Regions from separate parts of the Homo sapiens genome. Here region 1 is linked to region 2. The links are contacts of gene promoters, found by promoter capture Hi-C in blood cells and fetal thymus (Javierre and others, 2016). All regions are on one chromosome and are shown on one strand. Each heading gives the region's core, a stretch centred on a gene start or on the middle of the fragment in contact. The rest is flanking DNA. Distances are from core to core; before and after follow the strand shown. Region 1 overlaps EPHB1 (EPH receptor B1). Region 2 holds the start of KY (kyphoscoliosis peptidase).

Evidence for each region. Contacts are between HindIII fragments. The CHiCAGO score rates a contact against its expected background, and 5 or more counts as called.
Region 1: a contact is called between a fragment that was not itself captured here and the fragment with the promoter of KY in region 2, in 1 of 17 cell types (neutrophils). The highest score is 5.3, in neutrophils.

Annotation. Positions count from the first base shown.
Region 1 is chr3:134,815,688-134,820,860 of GRCh38, reverse strand. The region is part of intron 1 of EPHB1 (EPH receptor B1); the gene reads right to left. Among named protein-coding and RNA genes, the nearest start is that of EPHB1, 23 kb to the right of the region's middle. The HindIII fragment of the contact is 4,743 bases long and covers 1,093-5,173 here.
Region 2 is chr3:134,649,305-134,654,655 of GRCh38, reverse strand. It overlaps KY (kyphoscoliosis peptidase), which reads left to right and starts at 3,634. Exons shown (of 11, transcript NM_178554.6): 1 at 3,634-3,831. The coding sequence starts at 3,696. It also overlaps a transcript of CEP63 not described here. The HindIII fragment of the contact is 8,919 bases long and covers 1-5,351 here.

The DNA.
Region 1 (5,173 bases), core at 2,215-4,714, 170 kb before region 2:
AAAACTCTGACTAATACAAACCCTTTCTCCCTTTTAAAGCGTATCTGGTTTTTGTTTCTTTTGACCAGCATTGGGAACAGCAGGTGCAAACGTTCCGGGGCAGGAGGAAGCATGGAGAGTTCCAAGAAAAGAGAAAGCAGCCTGGGGCCGAGTGGTGGGAGTGTGCACTGTAGGTAACCCAGGCAAACACAGATAAATACAAAATAAAATAAAATAAAACATCAAGAACTTGCTGTGAAAGAATTGCTTGAGCTCTAATTATTCTGGCTGCTTGTCTCTGCATGGAATAATATTAATAGTTTTGTGCCTGTGATTAGAGGGCCCAGCCTCTGGAGGCTAAAAAGTTACCTTTAAGCATCTCTTCCCCCCGATTCTTCTCTTCATAAAGGCAGCCAGTTTCTGGTCCAAGGGGGCATTCTGTAAACACTGGAAGGAAGGGAGGGAAGAAAGGAGGGAGGAAGGAATTTTCTGAGCCCTCTGGTAGAGAGGCCTCCCTTAGGGGCAGAGAAGCATTTGTCTCCATGCCTAGACTATGGAGAGGTTGTGGTTTTCCTGCAGGGATACTGCTAAGTGCTCCCTAAACCTGCTTTTCCCAGACATGGAGGCTCCCTCCATTTCTCAGCTTGGTCCAGATGGGACCATGAGAGTAGTCTTTGCCAATGGAGTGGAAGAAAGAGGGAGTGATGTTTCTCTCCCAGGCTGAGATAGGTAGGAAGGTAAGAGTAAATTTGCCTTTTCCTCTGTCAGCATTTATCAACAGGGTCTACTAGTATGGGTCCCTGAATGACAGGAGGGGTGGGTGAGGGGAGGGGAAGGGGACAGAACCCCACCACGGGCCTCACCAGACTGTGATATGAGTGAGAAATAAACTTTTATCTTGTGGGCTAAAAAATTTGGAATCAGGTGTTACAGCAATTAGCTGACACTGATTAAATCAGAAATTGGCATGACAGGTGTCCATGTGTCCCCTGCGCTGGGCCCACCCAAGCAAGGCAGAAGAGCAAGAAGTATGGGATGGGGCATCTGTAGGCAAGACCGGGCTAGAAAAGAAGGCAACAGAGGCCTCCCAGGCAGACAAAAGTGAGAGAAGCTTTGGCTGTGGGAACACAAGATCCAAGGGCAACTACCTTTCCCACAAAAAGAAGCTGCAAGGGCAGTGTCTGAGCAGCCTGGGGAGGCACAGGGATGTGCAGGGTAGGGACTCAGCTGCTCCAAGCAGAACCCCACACTGCTGCATTGAGAAGGGAGAGAAGAGGCACAGAGAAGGGAGGAAACATTTATTGAGTGTCTGCTACATACCAAGCCTTGTCTGTACCAGGCAATCCATCTATGTTATCTCATTTACTCATTCCAAAGCCCCTATAATGGGATATGATTCATTCCCATTTTATAGAGGAGCTACTTCCAAGGCTTACACCTACAGACTGGTCAAGTGGAGATGAGAACCTGGTCTGGGAGATCACCACATGGGCACCCTTCTGCCTCCCTCGTAGGAAATGGGAATTCACTAGCAGGGAACCCATACTGCCTGCTGGCCCCGTGAAAGACACCTATGCACAAATGGGAGGCTGCCATCCCCTAAGGCATAGGGAGAGGGAGGACACACATCAAACAGAAGCTCCGACTGATTATGGAAGTGATAGTGATTAGACAGAGGTGTGTTTATGCCTACCTAACGTCCATTTCTCTATGCTCAGAAGTTCACCTCTGCATACAGCAAAAATCCCACCTGCCAAAACATTATCTTGTCTTATAACTCATGTTTAGACCCCTTTCTATCCTGCCTAAACGGCCCCCTTCACTCATAAACTGGCTACTAACCTTTGCATTATAGTCTGAAGATTGAATCAGCTCCCACCTCCTGCCTCCACCTCCTGTTTCCAGCCAGGCTGCCCTCAGCCTCTGTTCATCTTCTCTGCTCACCTCGAAACACAGTCCTGAAAGGGGAGGGGCCAGATGCTTGGAGGGCTCTCAAGAGACCCAGAGAGAAAAGTCATTATTTGAAAGAAACACTTGCACGTGCATGTTTATAGCAGCACAATTCAGAATTCCAAAATCGTGGAACCAACCCAAACGTCCACCAATTAAGGAGTGGATAAAGAAACTGTGATAGATATATAGTATATAGGATAGAATATGAAATACTACTCAGCCATAAAAAGGAATGAATTAACGGCATTTGCAGTGATCTGGATGAGACTGGAGACTATTATTCTAAGTGAAGTAACTCAGGAATGGAAACTGATACGTGGGAGCTAAGCTATGAGGATGCAAAGGCATAACAAGGATACAATGGATTTTGGGGACTTTGGGGTAAGAGAGGGAAGAGTTGAAGGGGGGCAAGGGATAAAAGACTACAAATATGGTGCAGTGTATACTGCTTGGGTGATGGGTGCACCAAAATCTCACAAATCACCACTGAAGAACTTACCCATGTAACCAAATACTACCTGTACCCCAATTACTTATGGACAAATAAAATTTTAAAAAGAAACACTATGACTGTCCCCAGCAGCATGGACATACCATAAGGTCATACATCCTAAGCCAAGGAGGCTGCCTGCCTGTCAGCCTCTTAAACAGGGTTCCAAGGACTTTCAACCTCATTATCCAAGAGCTGGCTGTAGGTTTCTCTTCTTGTTGAATGAAGGGTTAAATGAAAGTAGGGTAGAGAAAGTGAATTCCCCAGTCATTGCCTTACAATCACCTAGGAGTGTGAGATGGTCACCTAAGGGGCCTATCCCAGTACCTGGACATGCCTTCCCTCTTCACATCTTTCCTCTCCACATGGCTCTTAGGAAAGTCAGTGGAATGGAGAACTCCACAAGCTGAGCCAGGAGTGGGGCGGGGAAAAGCATTAAGAAGCCACCTGTTTGAAGAGTGGGTAGGAACATAGGCACAGGACCTCAAGAGGTGTCTGTGAACCTGGCTGCATGTGGCAGACAGTTCTCCCGACCGCCAGTCATTGCGCTTTCCCCCTCTGGGCAGGGGCTTGGGATATTGGATCTCATTTCCCTCTATGGATGACCATTCCACCAGGCTTGGGCCAGGAGCTGTCCACCAGAATCAATCGTAACCACCATTATAAGAACAGCTTGTGTTTCCAGAGCACATCCCAGTTTACAAAGCATTTCCCATACATGGGCTCTGATTCCTACTCAACAACCTCTTACTGAAGAGCTCAAAGAGAAAGAGGTTGGACCACATCATCCCCAATGGACAGGTAATGAAACTGAGAATGAAACTTCAGAGAGATTAGGTGGCTTTCCAAGGTCACGCAGCTGGTAAATGTGAGCCAGTTCTCTGACTCCCAATAGCAGCCTCTTGCATGGATTCATACCTTCAGGTCTAAGGCCACGGTGGGGACAGAAACTACAGAGCTCCATGTGCACTCCTCTGCCAGGACAGGGAAGTGTGCCACCCACTTCCAGCCCTCCACATGGCCTCAGCTCTGCCACGCTGGCCAGAAGCCTGAGAACCAGGTGCTGGGTGAGCCATGGCACCCGGCCCTCTAAACGGTGAAGGAGCTGTGACGACTAGAATTGCAGGCAATACTGACATTGTTCTACAGAGGAGAGAAAATGTCAGTGAGTACACTGTCCAGTGCCCCCCAATTCCTGGGGCCACAGAGAGGGGAATGGGCTGACTGGGGCCTTCAAACTTTATTTTTATTTACAAAAACAGGCAGCCCATAGTCCATGGTTTACAGAATTTGATTTAAAAAAAAAACTACATTCATATATTACTTACCTTGATTAATCTTTAGTGCCCCCTTAAACTTTGCTCCAAGTGGCTGCCTCCTTCTTCTTACCCTAGTCCCTGTTCCTCCCTTTTCCCACAAACTGGAATCCTGGTGAGATGGGAGGAAGTCCTGGAGACGGCAGAGAAGGCAGCAGTGGTCCACAGGCCCTTTCCTTGCTCTGCTGGGTCTGCTAGGAATTCGTCCAGACCTGCTCACACTGAGGGTGAGTGCCCCAGGAAGCCCTGCTGCCTAACCACTGAGACGCCTGCGACTCTTGGCCATGATACGTCATGTCAGGTTACTGAACATCGCCCCAGCACACGTGCCTGAATATCAGCTTTTCTAAGCTGCTTAGAACATTGGCCCTCCAAGTCTATGGGAGTAGGCAAGGACTACACACCAGCAATAGATGGGCCAGACAAGGTATTGGCAAGCAGAAGAATGATTTAGGGATCAATTTTCCCAGAGGAGGGTGCCTGGGAATCTGTTTCAAATGAAAAGAGAGATACAGAAGAAATGACAATACTAATAACTACCACGGGCTTTAAACACCTTATCTCATCTATCTCACAACGATCATGTGAGGTGAGTACCACCATCCCCACTTACGGGACGAACACACAGAGGCCATAACTGGGAGGTTATGTAGTTTGTTCAGTGTCAGAGGTGGAATTCAAATCCAGACCTGTCTGAATCCAACACTCAACTGCTTCAGGAAAAAAATCCAGCCAGGCACGGTGGCTCACACCTGTAATCCCAGCACTTTGGGAGGCGAGGTGGGCGGAGCATTTGAGGTCAGGAGTTCGAAACCAGCCTGGCCAACATGGTGAAACCCCGTCTCTACTAAAAATACAAAAAAAACAAAAAAATTAGCTGGCTGTGGTGGTGTGTGCCTATAATCCCAGCTACTCGGGAGGCTGAGGCATGAGAATCGCTTGAACCCAAGACGTGGAGATTGCAGTGAGCCGAGATCACACCATTGCACTCCAGCCTGGGTGACAGAGCAAGACTCTGTCTCAAAAAAAAAAAAAAAAACAGAAACAGAAAAAGAAAAAAGAAAAAAAGTACCTCAGAGGCAGAAGGACAACGTGCAGAGGACACGGCGTGTGGCCCCAGCATTTACCTTTGGTGGTTACTTAATCTTTCTGCATCCCAATTTCCATGCCCCCCAAAAAACAAATGTGTGCTGATAAATAAATATGGCACAATAACAACAACTGTTGAAACTAGGGGCAGGGGCTGTGGCATGGGTGTTCACTTCAGCATACTTTTGACTTTTCTATACTTTTGGAAATATTCATAATAAATTTGGAAAACAACAAAATGTCCCCAGGTCAAAACTGATATATGACCCCATCAAAGAAAGTCCCTGGCATCAAAATAGCTGAATAAAAATAGCTACATTAAACAGCTGCACCAACCCTCCACAGC
Region 2 (5,351 bases), core at 2,385-4,884:
GAATCAAGCTAAGCCAGGCCAGTCAAGAGGCCATGGGAAGCCTACACTGGCTGAGGAAAGGTTTCTGGGAAAGGTATCCAGTATCCCATGTAAGGATTCACTCATCTCAGGGTAGGCTGAGGGAGTTAGGAGACTGGAACTTGGTCTGTTACTCTTCACCAACTCACAGAACTCTCTGTGTGCCTCTTCCCCACGTCATCAATGGAGAAAATTCCCTGCCAAAAGCCTTTATTGCATTGGCTTACTTACTCTATCTCTATAGAGAAGAGAGAAACTTGCCTCTTGGAATCCCAAGAGTGGTAAAAACAGCTATGACTGATGGTCCCAGCAAAACTACCATTTCTGAGGGAAAACAGTGGGGGTCAAAACACACTCCTCTCTGGTGACAGCTTCAACTGCCAGGAGCAAGCCCTGCCCCTGGTGAACCCTCCTTATCTCCAAGACAGCAGAACCAACTCAGGGCCCAGAACCATTCAGACAACTGACAAATCTCACCTTCTAGCAGAGGAGTATCGGATGCAGGGCTGCTGACAGCTGGATGTGTCTAAGTGTTGAATTTGACAAAGGTGACAATACAACTATTTTGACTGTCCTTTGTCTTTCTGTATCCTGGAATTCCCACTCATTTTGATTAAAATAAAGTTTTGCTCAAGAATGGAGAAAGCCCCTGGTTTGTCAGCTACTAAGACAAGGATGCAGATTAATTATTTAGGTCGGAATACAGAGAGCCTTGCATCTTTTTTATTCAAGATGGTAGCAGGATGGAGGGGCTAGTATGGTGTGTTTGGGGTGTAGAGGACATGGTTTCTGTTGAAGCATGTGTGGGTTTGGTAGGGAAAAAGGAAGAGATGGGTCTGGAGATTTGCAGGCTGAGCGTTCTGTTATTTGTCCCGTTGATTGTGTGAGCAGCTGGAGGGAGGATTTGAGCAGAAGGGATACAGCCTCTACTTGAATGATATCCCAGCCACCTCAGTGTTCTCTTGTCTCTCCTTCCCCTTTCCTGATACATCCAAATGCCTTCAGCCACATCACCTTCCCCATGGTGTCTCCCTCTCAGCCCAAGAATGGATAGTGGGGAAGAGGGGAAGCAGCTAAGTCAACCCAGGCCAAGGATGGGAATAGAGTTGGCATTAAGAAGAGCATCTCATCTATGCTCCTGGCAGGCCCCAGAAGCTAGGCTGTTGGACTGATGGCCATGGGTAAACCTCTGAGAAGAGGGTCTAGGTGTCAGGCACCATCAGGATCCAGGGGCAGCAGCATCTCCCAGAGCAGTCGAGGTGACTCCAATTTCAGGAGTTTGCTCCAAAGCGGTGTTCACACTGCAATTCTTTCCAAAGGAAACATTGGTCAATGTCTGGAGACATTCTAAGTTCTCACAATAGGGAAGTGAATGTGATTGGCATCTAATGCGTAGAGGCCAGGGATGCTGCTAGACATCCCACAGTGTACAGGAAAGCCCCACCAAAGAGAATTATCTGGCTCAAAATGTCAATAGCGCCAAGGATGAGAGGCCCTGCTCCGAAGCTGTCTTCAGACATAGCAGAGAGACAGGAGGCCTCCACACCATTTCCCCAGACCCCTGGCAGCACATTCCCAGGTCAGAATATCCTTCTCCAGAGGCAGTTCTGGGAGGGGGCACCAGAGTTTGCGAGTTCCTAGCAATGACACTTTCCAGCAGGAGAGCAAGGGTTGGGAGATGGGAATGCAAGTGTAAGGAAAGGGGACTTCAGCTCCCCCCACCATCACCAACACTCAGACCCATCCGGCAACCAAGGGTGCTGTACACAGGCTTCTAGTTGATTTCAGCACTTCAGACAACCTGACACTTGAAGGAGTTAGACAACACTGACTGGCCCAGGGTAGTTGGGGGGACTCTGGGACCTGAGATCTGCCTCAGCAATCTCCAACACCCCAAGAGCTTTGCATAATGCATAGTTCTTACTTCCCCAGCCACATAGAGAGTAAGTGTTAGCCAGCCTCCCAGGTGTGCGCGCGCGCGTGTGTGTGTGTGTGTGTGTACCTGCACACATACAGACAGGACAAGACTCACTTTAGCAGAAGGAAACCTGCCTTGGAAGTCAGCCATCTCCACTTGCCTGTCTATGGCCTCAGCTCTCTAGGGACTCCAGTTCAACATTACTGGAAGCCAACAACCTCTCCTTCCATCAGATGCCCAGTGGGTGAGTCAGGGGGTGGGGTGGTGGGGGGGGGCGCTGGTAATGCAATAAGACAACAGCCTTTACACGGAACCAAACTCTGAGCCACTGTTATTGGAGGAAGACCTTCAGAATCTCAGAGTGTGGCTGTGACATCTCTCCTGCTTCTCTGCTCCATCAGTCACTTGTCACTCCATCTTTCCCTTTCCTCACCCTTAAAATGAAGTAAGAATGACAGCTACCATATGAAGACCACTTTCTATACACCAGGCGCCTTACATTCATGCCATTCTCACAACAGCCATGTGAGAAATTTTTATCAACCCAGTGATAAGGGTGAGAAGGTGGAGGGAAAATGGCTGGTCCAAGGTCACACAGCCAGGAAGTGATGGAGCTGGTACTGGAATGCAGTCTGTGTGACACAGGCTGCTCCAAGGAGGATCTGGGAACTCTCAGGACCATGCTACAAGGTGGGGTCCATACACTCCAATGCGGGGAGGGCTCCCAGAGCAAAGGCCTCCATGTGGGGGTGCATTTATTAACAGTAGAAACTCGAATTAGGGGAACGCCCCCAGCAGGGTGGGCCCGTAGTGCCCAGGGGTACCAGGCAGAAGCCTATGTAAACACTCCTGAGACCTACAGCCAAACCCCTGCTGCTGTTGGCTGGGCAGGCCAGGCCGGGCTAAAAATAGAAGGCTTCTCAGGTCCAGCTCCCTGTGCCCCAGCCTCCTCCTCTCCCCCTCCCTCCTTCCCCACAGGGCAGGAGCCAGGCTTCTAGAACGAACCGAGACTTTAAGACTTTCGTTTCAGATCAAAGAGGATCGTTAGCTTGATACTCAATGGGCATGTTCCAAGTTCTACAGGGGCCGTAACTGGGGGGAGCTCCTGACTCCAACACCCCACCCAACTCCCTCCTAGGGAGAGAGAGCTGTCAACCTCCAAAACCAACCCAGGGAAGGAGTGAGGTCGAGGCCAAAACTTGGACAATCTCTGCACATCTTGCAATTCAATCTGGAGCCCCTTTGCTGTCTTTCCTTTTCCTGAATCTACTCTCAATGTTGACAGCACTGTGCGATTTCTGTATTTGCCAGGGGCTTCTCGTGGGAGGTCGGCTCCAGCCCTCTCGAGAACCCTCCGGAGACCGTGGGGATGAGGCAGCGCTCAGCCAGAGAAGCCCTGGAGCCCAGGACCAGCGCTTCAAGTGCACCGGGCGGGAGGCAGGGGCGCAGGGAGGGAGGCTCTGGACCGGCCGCCCCTGCTGACTATGGCCCCGGTGCAGGTCAAGGCTTGGGCCCGGGGATTTCCTTTCAAAGGTGACTTAGAGCCGCTTCATTAGGGTAGCGCCCTCCCAGGCGGGCCCTAATGGCGTGTTTGGCAGAGTCAGCGAAAAGCAGCGCCCTGCGGCTCCAGCGGCGGGGGAGCGCCCTCTTCCGCGCCCTCGCCCTCTCCCGTGTGGGGCAGCTGCGCGCACGGGGCCATTTGCAGCGCAAGCAGCCTAGCGTGCGGCCGCGGCGCCCAGGTCGGAAAGGAGGCGGCATCATGGAGCTGAAGAAGGACATCAACGCTGTATCTATCGACATGCTGCTGATCGTGCACTCGGAGAAGCGGCGCGCCGCACAGGGTACGCTCTCAGACCAGCAGGCGAACCCGAGCTCGCTGCTGCAGCGCGGAGGAGGTAACGCGCGCCCGACCCGGGTCCCCGGGTCCCCCGGCACCTTGGCCTCCTTGCCACAAGGGCCTGCCCGCCGGGGGGCGCCCATTGCTCCCCCGAACGAGGTCAGCGAACCCGACCCTCTCCCCCATGGCTGCCGTCGCTTCCCCGCAGTGGCACCGGCGTCCCGTGGCAACGCGCAGTCCCGTGGCAACGCGCAGCCCCGTGATTGCCCCAGTTTCACTCCCTGTGCAGGCCTGTGGGTGCTTCCGTCACCCCTGGGAGTCTTTTTCCTCCCAGCCACTCCCTAACGGGTGTAGAGCAAGATTGGAAGATACCCTGGAGGAAGGCGGCCAGAGCCTCAGGGCTGACTCATGGGTAGCAGAGGCCTGCTCCCCCCCACAGCACACTGCAGGGCACAGGGGACGCTGGGAAACCTTTGGGCTGAGTCAGACTTTTAGATGGGGAGCTCCCTGTGTGGCCTTGCACAATTTACAGCCTCAGTTTCTCCTTTCTTGAGACTTTCTCCCAGCCTCCTATAGATGGAAGGCATGAAAGGCGTAAAAGGAACGCAGGTTTGGATAGGGTAAGATTTGAAACCTGCTGTCTCCACTTGAACTTATCCATCAATTTTACTTGTCCTACACACTTTCTGGGTAAATTTGTAAGTTGTAGATTGGTAAAATAAAGTGACTGTTTATAGAGTGATTGTGGAAAGCAGGATCCGGGCCTCTCTGTTCTCCAGACGACAGAACACAATGTGAATGGAGTACAGAGGGATGATAATGGAGGTTAAATAAGCCCCTGAAAAGCCAGAGAACCTCAGGGTCCTGGATGGCAAGCTGTCTCCGAGGCTGGTGTGAGGATGCACTAGGCGGACTGCGGGCCAGTTCTTTAGGAGTTAGGCCTGACAGCCCATGCAGGAGAATGACTTCTGCCTCTCTCCTCCCCTCCAGCTCTGGAGCTCCTTGGAATTCCTGCTGCTGCTCTGCCCTTGGTTCTTCTGTCCCCAGAGCCTCTGTGCTCATTGAACATCCACCTTCCACCTGCCTTGCTTAAGTAATGCTGCTGTGGATGGCCTTGCCACTACCAGCCACATAGGCTGGAGCTGCCTCCAGAGCCCTGGGAACCTCTTGGGAAGGCAGGCAGGGGAAAGAAACAGAATCTAGAGGGCTGAGTATGTTGACAGGCGCTCTAGTCTCAGGGCTGATTCCTGACTGAAGCAGGAGTTGTTTGGATTCGTTGGCTCTTTAGTTATCAGACCTACTCTTGGGAGAAGGGGAAATGGCCTGCCCAGGGTATTTGTAGTTAGAAAGTCAACAGAGGGCATCAACTTCTTGATAGAAATGAGACTGCTCTGAATACATGTACCACAGTCCAGAATGCCTTCTCCAGTGTGTGGCGAGGCCTAGTTCCAGGTCAGCCCACGAGTCCCCTACTCCCAATCCTCTCTGATCACATCACTTCTAAAGGCTCTGACACTAGAAAGGGCAAAGAATGCAGAGAAGCCCAGGAAACACCAGGCATCAGGACTGCCCTGAGAG